Linked DNA regions of Homo sapiens: region 2 is linked to region 1. The links are contacts of gene promoters, found by promoter capture Hi-C in blood cells and fetal thymus (Javierre and others, 2016). All regions are on one chromosome and are shown on one strand. Each heading gives the region's core, a stretch centred on a gene start or on the middle of the fragment in contact. The rest is flanking DNA. Distances are from core to core; before and after follow the strand shown.

Region 1 (7,495 bases), core at 3,107-5,606:
GTGGTGCACCATCTTGGCTCACTGCAACCTCCGCCTCCCCGGTTCAAGCAATTCTCCTGCCTCAGCCTCCTGAGTAGCTGAGACTACAGGCGCACGTCACCATGCCCAGCTAATTTTTTGTATTTTTAGTAGAGATGGGGTTTCACCATGTTGGCCAGGATGGTCTCGATCTCTTGACCTCATGATCCACCCTCCTCGGCCTCCCAAAGTGCTGGGATTACAGGCATGAGTCACCGCGCCCGGCCCTCCCTCAAATACTTTTGAATTGAATGAGTTATTTCAGGGTTTTTTTGTTGTTGTTGTCATTGTTTGTTTTTTGAGATGGAGTTTTGCTCCTGTCACCCAGGCTGGAGTGCAGTGGCATGATCTCGGCTCACTGCAAACTTCGCCTCCCAGGTTCAAGTGATTCTCCTGCCTTAGCCTCCTGAGTAGCTGGGATTACAGGCGCCCACCACCACGCCTGGCTAATTTTTCGTATTTTTAGTACAGACGGGGGTTTCATCATGTTGGCCAGGCTGGTCTTGAACTCCTGACCTTGGGTGATCCACCCACCTTGGCCTCCCACAGTGCAGGGATTACAGGCGTGAGCCACTGCACCTGGCCTATTTCAGGTATTTTTGTGTGGAGCTTGGAATGAACTTTTGAGAGGTGACAGCGTGCTGGCAGCCCTCGCTCGCTCTTGGCACCTCCTCGGCCTCAGCGCCCACTCTGGCCGGCTTAAGGAGCCCTTCAGCCCGCCGCTGCGCTGTGGGAGCCACTTCCTGGGACCGAGGCCAGAGCCGGCTCTCTCAGCCTGCGGGGAGGTGTGGAGGGAGAGGCACGGGGGGAACCGGGGCTGCACGCTGTGCTTGCGGGCCAGCTAGAGTTCCCTGTGGGCGTGGGCTTGGCAGGCCCGCACTCGGGAGTGGCCGGCTGCCCTGGGCAGTGAGGGGCTTAGCACCTGGGCCCGCAGCTGTGGTGGGTTCGCGGGGTCCCCCAACAGTGCCAGCCCACCAGCGCTGTGCTCCATTTCTCGGCGGGCCTTAGCTGCCTCCCCGCAGGGCAGGACTCAGGACCTGCAACCCGCCATGCCTGAGCCTCCCCCTGCCACCGTGGGCTCCAGCGTGGCCCGAGCCTCCCCGATGAGCGCCGCCCCCTGCTCCAGGGTGCCCGATCCCATCAACTGCCCAAAGGCTGAGAAGTGGGGTGCAGGGCGAGGGACTGGCAGGCAGCTCCACCAGCCACCCTGGTGCGGGATCCACTGGGTGAAGCCAGCTGGGCTCCTGAGTCTAGCGGGGACTTGGAGAACCTTTATGTCTAGCTAAGAGATTGTGAATACACCAATCAGCACTCTGTATCTAGCTCAAGCTTTGTAAATGCACCAATCAGCACTCTGTGTCTAGCTCAAGGTTTGTAAATGCACCAATCTGCGCTCTGTGTCTAGCTGATTTGGTGGGGACTTGGCGAACGTTTATGTCTAGCTAAGGGATTGTAAATACACCAATCGGCACTCTGTATCTAGCTCAAGGTTTGTAAATGCACCAATCAGCACTCTGTGTCTAGCTCAGGGTTTGTAAATACACCAATCAGCACTCTGTATCTAGCTAATCTAGTGGACAGGTGGAGAACTTTTGTGTCTAGCTCAGGGATTGTAAACGCACCAATCAGCACCCTGTCAAAATGGACCAATCAGCTCTCTGTAAAACAGACCCATCGGCTCTCTGTAAAATTGACCAATCAGCAGGATGTGGGTGGGGCCAGATAAGAGAATAAAAGCAGGCTGCCCTAGCCAGTAGTAGTAACCCACTCAGCTCACTTTGCACACTGTGGAAGCTTTATTTTTTCGCTCTTTGCAATAAATCTTGCTGCTGTTCACGCTTTGGGTCTGCACTGCTTTTATGAGTTGTAACACTCACTGTGAAGGTCTGCAGCTTCATTTCTGAGGCCAGCAATACCACAAACCCACCGGGAGGAACGAACAACTCCAGACACGCCGCATTAAGAGCTGTAACACTCACCGTGAAGGTCTGCAGCTTCACTCCTGAGCGAGTGAGACCACGAACCCACCAGAAAGAAGAAACTGCGAACACATCTGAACATCATAAGGAAAAAACTCCGGACACATCACCTTTAAGAACTGTAACACTCACTGCGAGGGTCCGCGGCTTCATTCCTGAAGTCAGTGAGACCAAGAACCCACCAATTCTGGACACACTTTCACCTGGAAGAACGCTAAGTATTCCATTACAGAACACTGAGCTACAAGCAACAACTATGAAACAATGACCTGGTTTAAACCATGATTTATGGCTTACTTTACAGGGAGTCTGGAGGCATGTGGTTGATTCAGCAATTCAGCCATGTCCATCTTTGCTCTCCAGTGTCTCCAGCACTCTAGTCTTTCCTCATGCTTGTCACCTCGTGAGTACCAGATGCTGCCAATATGGCAGGCTCCACATTTTTTCTTTCAGACGTTGTTTCATTCTTGTCACCCAGGCTGGAGTGCAATGGCGCGATCTCTGCTCACTGCAACCTCCACCTCCCAGCTTCAAGCAGTTCTCTTGCCTCAGCCTCCCGATTAGCTGGGATTACAGACACGCACCATTATGCCCGCTAATTGGCAGGTTCCCCATTTCTTATGCCAGCCATCTCAAAGGGGGTAGGGGGTCAAGGGTTTTCTTTTCAGGAAGGTTTGTATTCCATCCAGTTGGGAAACCCTTTCACATCTCACGGACCCAGGTTGCATCACATGACCCTTGACCAGTCACTGGGGAAGGGGAATGACATTACCGTGACCTGGTTAGAGTGATCACGTTTCATCTAAGGAAGTAGGCACACACGTCCCCTTCAGGAAATACAGATAAGCAGGGATGGGTGAGGTAGTAGCTGTTGGACAGCAATGAACAGTGCCTAACTTAAGTTTAGTAGACATGATGCACAAAATGGAATATTTGTAGGTTGTGTAATAACCCAACTTATAATATTGGTCTTTTGAGAAAATGTGTTCTTAGCACCAAAGACAACTTTTGGGAAACAATACTCGAATACAATCCAAAATGCACGGAGTGAAATTCATACATTTATCTTTCAAAGTATACTTAACATAATTCCATCTTTCTTGGGCCCTTCAGGAGGTATTCTTAGAATCTTCTAGTTTGAGAATCAGAATCAGGCTGTGCCTGGTGGCCCATGCTTGTAATCCCAGTACTTAGGGAGGCCGAGGTGGGCGGATCACTTGAGGTCAGGAGATGGGGTTGCAGTGAGCCAAGATAGTGCCACTGTACTCCAGCCTCGGCAGAGCAAGGTCTTAAAAAAAAAAAAAAAATCAAATGTGAACATAGACTGTCATTAAAATCAACCCAACAATCCCATAGACTGTTTACTATTTTTTTAATAAACTTAGAAATTATCATTTCTAGTCTTAAGGTTGAAACTTACCTTTGTTTTATCTGAGTTCCTTCCTCAGGAAAGGACCTCCAGAGCCTCTCAAAAAGTATCAAAAAACTGAAACTCGCCATATCACCGCATTCCAGACAATGAGATGCCAAGCCCCTCATGCATCCCCATAGCTTCCTTCCCCCTCCCGAGTTCCTCTTTTCCCATACATTGTTACATTGCTTCCCTGCAACTGTATAAACCCTTAATTTTAGTTGGTCAGGGCAATGGATTTGAGACTGAGCTTCCAACTCCCTGAGTGCAGCACCCTACTAAAGCCTTCTTCCTTGGTAATAATGGTTTTCTCAGTGATTTCTGTGAGGGGGCAGCGGGTCCTAGAACAAAACCCTGGTGCTCTGGTGACATTCTGTTGTAGATATTTAGAAGGATGTTTACCTGTTAATTTGTTCTGCTATCCTCACAAAAAATGGTATTGCCAGCTGCACATAAATATTTGATTCATCCACCCACCCCTGTTCCCCACCCCCCCGACCCCAGCCATGATGGCACAGGGAAACTGAGGTCGCAGGTGAGCAGCAGACCGCGTCTGGACTCCACATCCCGCGCTCATCCTGCTCCACAGCAGGAAGCTCGTTCAACACACATGGACTGCGTGCCCATGTGGGTGCCAGGCTGCGGCTGTGTCCTGGGCAGGCAAAGGGACCTAGGGAAGATGCAGGTCCAGGAGGGTGGGAAAGTAGGGGCAGAAAACCAAGATTCTCACAGCCCTGCAGTGTGGAGTAAGAGCTCATTACACCTCTTGTCAAGGGAACAAAGGATCCCCGCCAGGCCCCTCTTGTGCACCCAGCGGTCCCCCCAGGCGCCTTGGAGACCCGGCCGGGCCCGTCGCCGGCCTCCAGCCACAGGCGTCGCTGTGCGCTCGCGCGGGCCCGGGAGCCGCGTTCCGCCGGGAGCAGGCGCTGGCGCAGAGCAGGGGTTTCAGTTTCTGGCGCGAACTTCCGCCGTTCCGAAGTTGCACGGTGAATTGGCGCTATGTCTGGGGACAGCAGCGGCCGCGGGCCAGAGGGCCGGGGCCGGGGCCGCGACCCGCATCGGGATCGCACCCGCTCCCGCTCCCGCTCGCGGTCCCCTTTGTCGCCCAGGTCCCGCCGCGGCTCTGCGCGGGAGCGCAGAGAGGCCCCAGAGCGCCCGAGCCTGGAGGACACAGAGCCGTCGGATTCCGGGGACGAGATGATGGACCCGGCCAGCTTGGAGGCGGAGGCCGACCAAGGCCTGTGCCGCCAGATCCGCCATCAGTACCGGGCGCTCATCAACTCCGTCCAACGTAAGGCGGCGCCTCCGGGCGGCGCGGGCCCGGACGGGCCGCTGTCCCCGCCCTGCGCCGGGCGCGGGGGGAGGGCACCGGAGGCAGGTGCCGGGCGGAGGCCCGGCGCGGCGTTAGTAGAGACGCGCCGGGTGCCAGCCCCTCGCCGCACCTTAAATTGTTGACAAAGTGCTCCCACTTTGTGGCTGGAGCCGTACGACCTTGGCGCGGGTCCCCGAGTGGCGGGCTGGAAAAGCTGGAGGCCAGAGCCGTTCGCGGACTCGCCCGAGCCCAGCCAGCCAGTGGGGAGAGGCAGGACGCGGACTCCGCGTGCTTTGATTGCGCCCGGCAGTCCTCGGCGTGGGCTCCCGGCCTCGCAGCGGCAGCTGCAGCTGCAGCGGCACGCGAGAGCTGTCAAATGCACGTTCTCGGACCCCACCCGGACCCGCGGAATTCGAATCTCTGGGTGGGTCCGCGCAACTGTGGAGTGGCCCTCCAGGTGATGGTGTGTATTGCTTGCAAAGTTTGAGAACCACTCAGTTATGGAGCACTCAGAGGCTGCAGCCGGAGTCCAGCCCTTTGGGTTAAGGTTAGAGGGAGCTAGGGTTTCCTTTTAAAATTCATGCTGCATAAAGGGTAGGGTGGCCTTTCTCCTTTTCCGGGTCATTTTGGTTAAAAAGATAAAGATGTTCGAAGTAATTACTCAGAGCGCAGGGGCCGGGGCTTGGCTTTACTGTTGCAGGTGATAACCTTGTCAACTGCTTATTAGTGAATGCTGAACAAATTTCCCAAAGTTTGTATTTTTAAAAATAGAAAACCGTGAGGACATACTGAATGCCGGTGACAAATTAACAGAGGTCCTTGAAGAGGCTAACACTCTGTTTAATGAAGGTAATTTGTTATTTTATATGTTATTTCGTGTTTTATGATACTTTTAATTAGTGTTACATAAGCGCCAAATTATTGACATAAAACAATTCCCACATTTGTAATAGTGCTTTCCCAGTTCGGGAACCGTTTCATTATAGCAATAATGCCATTTTTATTATGCACTTACCATATAATAAGGGCTTTACATGAAAATTTGGGGGTAGGTTCCGCAGTCTGTGTTAAGCCCCCAGTTGATTCTGTTGCCTCTTCAAGTTTGAGAACGTTACATGTGTTATCTTGTTTCTTTTTCTTGTGTTTACTGCCGTATCCCTAGTATACATTGGTTGAGTGGATGAATTACAGAACTGAGCTAGCCTCTGAAATCCTGTTTCTTTTCCTGTCCCATTCTGTTTTGCCTTCCTCAGCTCCCTGCTATTGGTCCACGTGTAACACAATGGAGGTGGCAAAGCCTGCAAGTGTACCTGCTGGTCTCCAGTCTGGGGTGTGTTGTGTGTGAGTGAGTGAGTGAGAGAGATCCCAGAGCACTGAACTCTAGGCCATGGGTGCTTTAAAAAATAACCTTAGTTTGAATTGAAAGCAGAGGCAGTGGTATTGGTAGCAGCTGTCTGTCTGCTTGGTGACAGAGGGGTACTCCCTGATGTGGGTACTTGGTCATAGAGCCACAGGACTACTACCCAGACCACTGTCCCCTCCAGCCCTCTCTGACGGGTCTGTGGGAACATAGGGGAGAATGCAGCCAAATATATCCTTTTTTTTTTTTTTTTTGAGGTTTGAGATGGAGTCTCTGTTGCCCAGGCTGGAGTGCAGTAGCACAATCTCGGCTCACTGCAACCTCCACCTCCCAGGTTCAAGCAATTCTCCTACCTCAGCGTCCCGAGTAGCTGGGATTACAGGTGTGCTCCATCACACCCAGCTAATTTTTGTATTTTTAGTAGAGACGGGTTTCGCCATGTTGGCCAGGCTGGTCTCGAACTCCTGACCTCAGGTAATCCACCTGCCTCCGCCTCCCACAGTGCTGGGATTACAGGCATGAGCCACCGCCCCCGGCTGGTTCCTCATATTCTTAAAGGACTAGAACGTATATTTTTAGTCATTGCTGAGGATGACTAGTTCTTTAAATGTCTCCTTTTATCACTTTATATATGCTCTCCAATTTCTTTGACCACAGCCTCCTTACCATTCCCCATCTTAGTCTACCGCATTTGCTAACTCTCATCAAAACCTTCAGGAACCGGGTGTTTCTCCTTCACCTGGTTAAATCCCTCTACTACCCTCTTAAGTTTTGTCTTCCCTTCGCAGCCTGGACTCCCAGTCTCCTTACTGTTAGTCTTGCTTGACTTGACTCAATTACTCCCTTGATATTTACTGTGCATCTAGTCAGTTCTTTATCCCCACATCATTCCCCCCTCAGCTATTTCCAGTATTTAAAGCAATATTTTAGAGCAAAATTATTCACTCATTGGAGCCCTAGGAGTTGCTCAGCAAACAACAGATGCTGGCATTCATGGATTTGATGGTCTCAGTTTGTAAAATAAATAAATAAATGAAAGGGGAAGGGAGTGGGGCAGGCAGGCACAGGATACTCATGGGAGATAAAGAAGGGATCAACAAAAGGAAACAGCGGGGCTGAGGGGGTTGCTTAATCAGACCCTGCAGGCAACAGAGAGTATGAAAAATAGTCTGGGAACACCTACACCTGTCGCCCAGGCTGGAGTGCAGTGGCATGATCTTGGCTCACTGCAACCTCTGCCCCCCCCAGGTTAAAGCTATTCTCCAGCTTCAGCCACCCGAGTAGCTGGGATTACAGGTGTGCACCACCATGCCCAGCTAATTTTTGATTCTTTAGTAGAGATGGGGTTTCACCACGTTGCCCAGGCTGGTCTCAAACTTTGGAGCTCAAAGTGATCCGCCTGCCTCGGCTTCCCA
Region 2 (6,529 bases), core at 2,646-5,145, 1.1 Mb after region 1:
AATGGAAAGAAGACAGATACTGAAGTCAGACAGGCCTGAGTTTAAAACACTGCTCTGCCATATGAGTAAGCTGGATAACTTTGGGAAAGTTACTTATTCTCCCACAGTTTTGTTATGGGTAAAATGGAGATAACTCCTCATGGATTATTACAGGGATAAAAATGAGTAGCACACAGTAAACATTTAATCAAAATAGTTACAGCGTTATTCTCTAGCAGTATGGAACAAGTTTAATCGATAATATCTCCTTAAATAAAGTTTATTTACATTAGGCTTTTCTGAAGTTTCCAACTTAACTATGCCTTCACTGGATATGGAACCAACAAAACAAAATCTTCTTGATGAAGATTTAATCAAGGTTGTACTCACATCTGGTGGAATCCGAGCACTGTCTTTTACTGAGTTTCCTTCAACAGTGAGATGATACACTTGGCCATCAATATCGGTAAATACAAAATGTTCCCGGGCAGAGATGTTCTGACTAAGTTCAGATTTACTTTCTGCCTCCTGCAGCAAGCTTTGGGATAGTGAAACATATGATAAAGATGTTTTTTTTTCCCCTAGAGTGATACTCATAATTAATTAACTTGCCCAAAGTACAGACGCATTAAGAGGAGGTCCAAAACTATTTTTTTAAAAGTCTGAAACTAATATTTGCCCAGCTAATTATGGGTAAACATGAATCACTCCTTAACAGCCACAACATCAGAGGAAGTTTACCCTGCACAGAGAGAAATGGTGATCTAAACTTAACACAAGAAAAATAAAATTCATAGAGATTTTGGCTATAGAACTGTGCTCAACAGAAGGGAGGCTGTACAGTGACCCAACATTATCTCTGAAGCCTTTTATCTGTAAGATTGGTATGGATGGGGATGATACACAAATTTAGGATTCCCAACACATTTTCTTTGGTGTGTATAAATGATAATATGATCTATCTGTATGTCTATGCTATGTTCATTTGAATTTCAGAAGCTGAAGTGTATGGAGTAGAAGGGCACTCGGAATGAGCACATTTACTACTAGATGCTGATGGGTGAATATTACTGCATATGTTATTAGTTATAACAAACAGTATAGTACAATACTAAAAATGATAAAATTATCTTTTTAGTAATCTGGGTATGTACTGAAAGATGAAACTAAGTATGTTCAAAAGCAGAGTCCAACTTGCTACCATAGACACCTTCCGATGATACTTGTCAACTTCCCAGACATGATGCTAATGGCACAAATGACAGTGTCAAGAAACACTGTACTGTACCTGATCACAGATGATTCAACAATACTCAGCTCTGTGTCTGAGACTACGGTCTGGCGGGCCATGGCCTCTCGAGTTGCAAGTTGCTTCTTTCTCAGGCTCTTCAAGTTGTGAGATGGTGACCACTCCTGTAAAGCAAATGCAGACAAACCTAGAAGTGCTAGGTTTCCTTCTGTCAAAGAATCGTCCAGAAGAGCTGGGCACACACACCACTGCCCAGTATCATTTATTATTACTACACATGAATCCACATTTGTTCTTTAGATTTTACCTACTTAGAGAAAGGCTAAATGAATGCATTTTAATTGGAGCTTTTATGGCAAACTTCCAAAAGGTCTGACCTTTTGATGTTTTTATAAAATACTTACAAAATGAAAATAATGAATTCAATGATAGTATTGCCTATTCCTCGTCTCCTCCCCCATCTCTTATGTGCACACGATAAGACAATCACAGTTCTCGAACCAGGGTCCTTTATCATCCATAGATTCCTCCAAAATCACTTGTTTTATTTATATATTCTTTTATATTCCACCTATTGTAAAGCCTTTTAGTCCAATATCCTCGCATATGTATAAGTTCTTAACATGTAGTTATTATCTAATTTACCTAAATAGTATTGTGTTTATATGTGTGTGTGTGTGTGTGTGTGTGTATATATATATATATACTTCATCCTGTTTCTTACTCTTTCCACTGTATTTAAGTCCTCTTCCTCCTGTTTCTGCATGCTACGTAATACTCCATGGGTGCATCAGCCAATTGTTAATCTGTCTCCTCTCTCAGTAAAAACACACAGATGGTCTCCAAACTCACATCATGACAAAACACACCAGTCAATATCCTTGCAAAAGTTCATTTACGACCAAGAGCTCAGCGGACACAGAAGATGTCTGTGTTTGCCCAAGTGCTGCCAGCGTGCTTTACAGAATGGCTGCATTGGTCTACATTCCTACCAGCAATGCACAAGGATTCCCATACCCTATGTTCCACCCGTACTTAACACTATATGGCTGTCCAGTTTTTGTTAGTCTAAACGGTAGATCCATATCATGGTTTGAACATCTCTGAAAACTGATGAGTTTGAACATTCCTTTATATGGCTTGTTGGCCTTTTAGGTTTCTCTGCCTCTCATTAGCTCTTCACAGACTTTGTTCATTTTCTCACTAGGGTTCCCGCTTTTTTTCACTGTTGACTTGCAGGAGTTTCTAGTTAAATTTAGACACTGGAAAATTTGTTTTCCCAAAATGTCTTCTGTATTTAACTTTGACATCTTCATCAAACAAAAAGCATTAATCTTGATTAATTAAATGCATTGTTTCTTTTTTTTTTTTGCCTTTTGGTTTGAGCTTCTGATGTCTCCTCCTGCCTCTAGGTCACAGCAATATTTTGTATTTTGTTATATTCAATTTTATAGCTTTACATTTTTACATTTAGGTCTTTAGTCCTGTGACACTCACTTCTCTATACGGTATTAAGTAGAGATCAAGTATTTTTCTCCATAAAGTGAGACAGTTTTCCCAACACCGTCTACTACACAGTCTGTCCATCCTCTTTGATTTGTGCTACTTTACTGTATATTAAGTCCCCAAATATTCATGGGTCTGTTCCTGAGCTCTTTATTAGGTTGACTCACTTTCTATTCTTGTGCCAATACAATACTGATTTTATTTCCATGGTTTTGTAAGATGTACTAATATCAGGTAGGAAGGGCCAACCCCACCCACACCTCCCACATTTACTCCTCTTTATTCAAGGATGACTTAGCTATTTAGGACCTTTATTCTTTCATAAACATTTTTGAATATGTTTACCATATTCCTCAAAATATCCAAATGAAACTTGAATTGGAATTGCACTAATATGATATTAGGTTGATTTATCCAAGAAAATAAGAATTATCTCCATTTATTTAGATCATCTTCTCTGAACACACATTTTTAACCAAAAAAATGACATTGGCAGTAATGATTTTGATTCAAGCTTAAGCAAAACATTCACCACATACATATATACCTAAATAAGCTATTAAATTCTTAAATTGTAACTTACCAAAGCAGTTATTGTAGGGAAGTTTTTGGACATCTCTCTAAGAAGGGTACAAGTCCTAACATCCCATAGCTCCAGGGGTTTATCTCTGAATACGACTGCCAAATACTGCCTAAAATAAACAAAATTACTAAATAAGCCCCTTTTTGCAAAAATTTCACCATGAATTAGAGCAAATAAAAAGTTCAGTAAATTGAAAAACTCAGCTGACGCATTCTAAATATAGACAATTTAAACTACCATTTAGCACCATGATTAACAGTCATAAGAAGGTAAAGCTCTAAGTGACCTGTAAGAGAACATACAGTCTCACACAATTAGGCAAGGAGTCCAACTTGGAAGAAAGAGTGGCATAGATTCAAACCCTGATGCCACAACTTATGTTAACCCTCCTGAGGCTCAACTTCTCACACATGACAGGAGAATCTCATCATGTACCTCAATTAATTGATATACAGATTATGGTAAACATTCAATGAAAAAGTATGTAAAGTTTCTATCATTCTACTACAGTTGGTATTCAACAAATGCCACTTTATTCACTTTCTGTTAAGCCTGAAAGAAGTACTGAATGACATCAACGAGTGCAATTCAACAAATATAATTTGAGCACTGATTACTCAATAAGCATTATGAGGAACTAAAATATTATCAGCAAATGATGGCTGACATAGAGGAAATGTGACAGAGTAGGAAGATCCCTGTACTCCCTGTATCAAAGGACTGAGATTCTTCCACTCAGGACCATGTGTGACCCCAACAGAAAGTAGAAATTTACAGAAAGATACCTGGCAAAACACCCAAATAGTTTGAAGTTAAAAAATATACCTCTGAATAACACCCCATGGAAATTTTTAAAGATTATAATGTGAATTAAAATGAAAACATATAACCATAACAAAAATTGTAGGATACAGGAAAACTGGTGCTCATATAGCATTAACTGTTTACATTACATTTTAGAGAATCAACTTAATTCAATTATCTAAGTTTCTATTTTAGAAAACTATGTAAAAAAAGGAGAGCATATTTAAAAAGTAAGCAGAAGAACAAAAGATAAGCATGACAGACAATGAAATTGAAAATGGAAAAATCATAGAGAAGAATCAAATGAATCAAAAGTAGTTTCTTGGAAAAGATCAATAAATAAAATTGGTTGATATAATTTACTGATATTAGGAGTGGGAAAGATAATCACTGATCATAGATCCATGATGAACAAGCTTATTTCAATAAATTAATAAACTCAGCAACTTCAACAAAATGGACAGATTACTTGGAAGACACCAATTACCAAAGCTCAAAAAAAGAGAATCTAAATAGTCCTATATTTATGAAAAAAAAAAACAAAACTGAATTTGTATTTAAAAACTTTGCCACAAAGAAAATTTTAGGTTCAGATGGGTTTCCTAATAAATTTTTCCCATTTAGTAAGAATAATATCAATTCTACACAAACTCATTCAAAAAAAAAGGAGAGAGAATACTTTACAACACGTTCTGCAAGGTCAGTATTACCCTGATACCAAAACAAAGGATATTACATAAAAACGACACCAATATCCTTCATGAACATAGATATAAAAACTCTTAATAATATATCATAAAACTCTTAATAATATATCAATAAATCAAATCCAGCAATATGTCAAAACAGTAATACATCACGACCAACTAGAGTTTATTCCGGGAATGTCATGTTGGCTTAACATCTGAAAATCAATCAATGTAATTCACCATATTAGTGAACTTCAAAAAGAAAAACAAAATAACACACACACACCATATGATGATATCAATGAATACAGAAAAAGCATTTGATAAATTCAACACCTACTCATAATACAAAGGCTCAGCAAACTAGGAATAAAACTTTTTCAACTTGATAAAGGAAATATACAAAAAATCTACAGCTAGTATCATACTTAATGTTGAAAGACTGAATGCTTTCTCCATAAGGTCCAGGATCAGAGCAAAGATGTCAGCTCGTAGCTGACATCTCAGTTCTAATCAACACTATACAGGAGGTCCTAATTAGTGCAAGCAAAAAGAAGGCCTATAGATCGAAAAGATGTAAAGATGTCTTTACTAGCAAACGAGACTGTCTCTATAGAAAATCCTAAAGAATTAACAAAAGCACCTATACTAGAAGTAATAACTAAGCTTAGCATGGTCACAAGGCACAAGGTCAATATCAGAAAATTAACTGTATTTTAATATACAAATAATAAATAATTGAAATTTAAAAATGTCATTTATAAAAGCATCAAAGAAAACACAAAATAAACAAATAATATGTAAGACTTACACACTGAAAACTACAAAATATTGCTGAAATTTTAAAAGACCTAAATAAGTGGAGAGACATACCATGTTCATGAGTTACAAAACTTGTTAAGATACCAATTCTTCCCCTCACTGATTGATGGGTTCAATGCAATCCCAATCAAAATCTCAGGAAGATTTTTTGATAAAACTGATAGTCTGATTCTAAAATTTATATGGAAATGCAAAGATCTTAGAAAAGCCAAAACAAGTTTGAAAACTACTTTAGAAAGCTTACTCTTTCTTTGTAATTTTGATTGATTTTCATTCAGTTTCTATTTTTAATAATACTGCTTTACATGTTATTTTCCCCTGAAACAAAAAAACTCAATTTCTGGAAGCAAAATGAGTTTAAATTATACATAAAGAAAATGAGTTCTTTCACTCAGTAACTCCATGCTTAGATAGAAGTACATAAGAACTTTATCCGAAAGTAAATAACGATTCATGCAAAAGTTACTTCATCTTTTTAGAAGTAGAGAATTAAAAGTGATAGCAACTTAATTTTGTAATCAAAATATTTTCTTTGGGCTGCATATCACCATTTGCTATCACTAAAAAGATTCCATATGCATTCCAGCACATTCCCATTTTCTTAAAGATTAAAAAAATCCACGAGATTTCATTGTGATAACACCATAGATTTTTTTTTAGGTTGACACTTACTTCAAATGAGATACTTTAATCATTTCGATGGCAGATTCATCATTGCCTCTTTCACCACGAAAAGCAATGCTCCTACCTTTAATTGCAAATATTTAAAAAAGTGAGAACAGTGCATAAAACATGTATGAAAAACAAGAAGCCACGCCAATGTAATTTGATCAGTCCTACCCATCCTACCCTCTGTTCTCCTATTCATTCTTCCATTTGCTTCTAATCTGTTTCTGT

The links. The method cuts DNA at HindIII sites, captures the fragments that hold promoters and counts their contacts. A CHiCAGO score of 5 or more calls a contact.
Region 2: a contact is called between a fragment that was not itself captured here and the fragment with the promoter of NSMCE4A in region 1, in 1 of 17 cell types (total B cells). The highest score is 5.1, in total B cells.

The regions. Positions count from the first base shown.
Region 1 is chr10:121,972,078-121,979,572 of GRCh38, reverse strand. NSMCE4A (NSE4A component of SMC5/6 complex) reads left to right here and starts at 4,356. Exons shown (of 11, transcript NM_017615.3): 1 at 4,356-4,699; 2 at 5,492-5,569. The coding sequence starts at 4,408. LOC124902517 (a long non-coding RNA gene) reads right to left here and starts at 4,706. Exons shown (of 2, transcript XR_007062322.1): 1 at 3,418-4,706; 2 at 1,796-3,285. RefSeq lists an enhancer at 3,922-4,717 and a silencer at 4,155-4,954. The HindIII fragment of the contact is 9,349 bases long and covers 1,815-7,495 here.
Region 2 is chr10:120,880,677-120,887,205 of GRCh38, reverse strand. It overlaps WDR11 (WD repeat domain 11), which reads right to left. Exons shown (of 29, transcript NM_018117.12): 13 at 6,305-6,380; 14 at 3,318-3,426; 15 at 1,268-1,392; 16 at 370-517. Among named protein-coding and RNA genes, the nearest start is that of WDR11, 33 kb to the right of the region's middle. The HindIII fragment of the contact is 1,289 bases long and covers 3,251-4,539 here.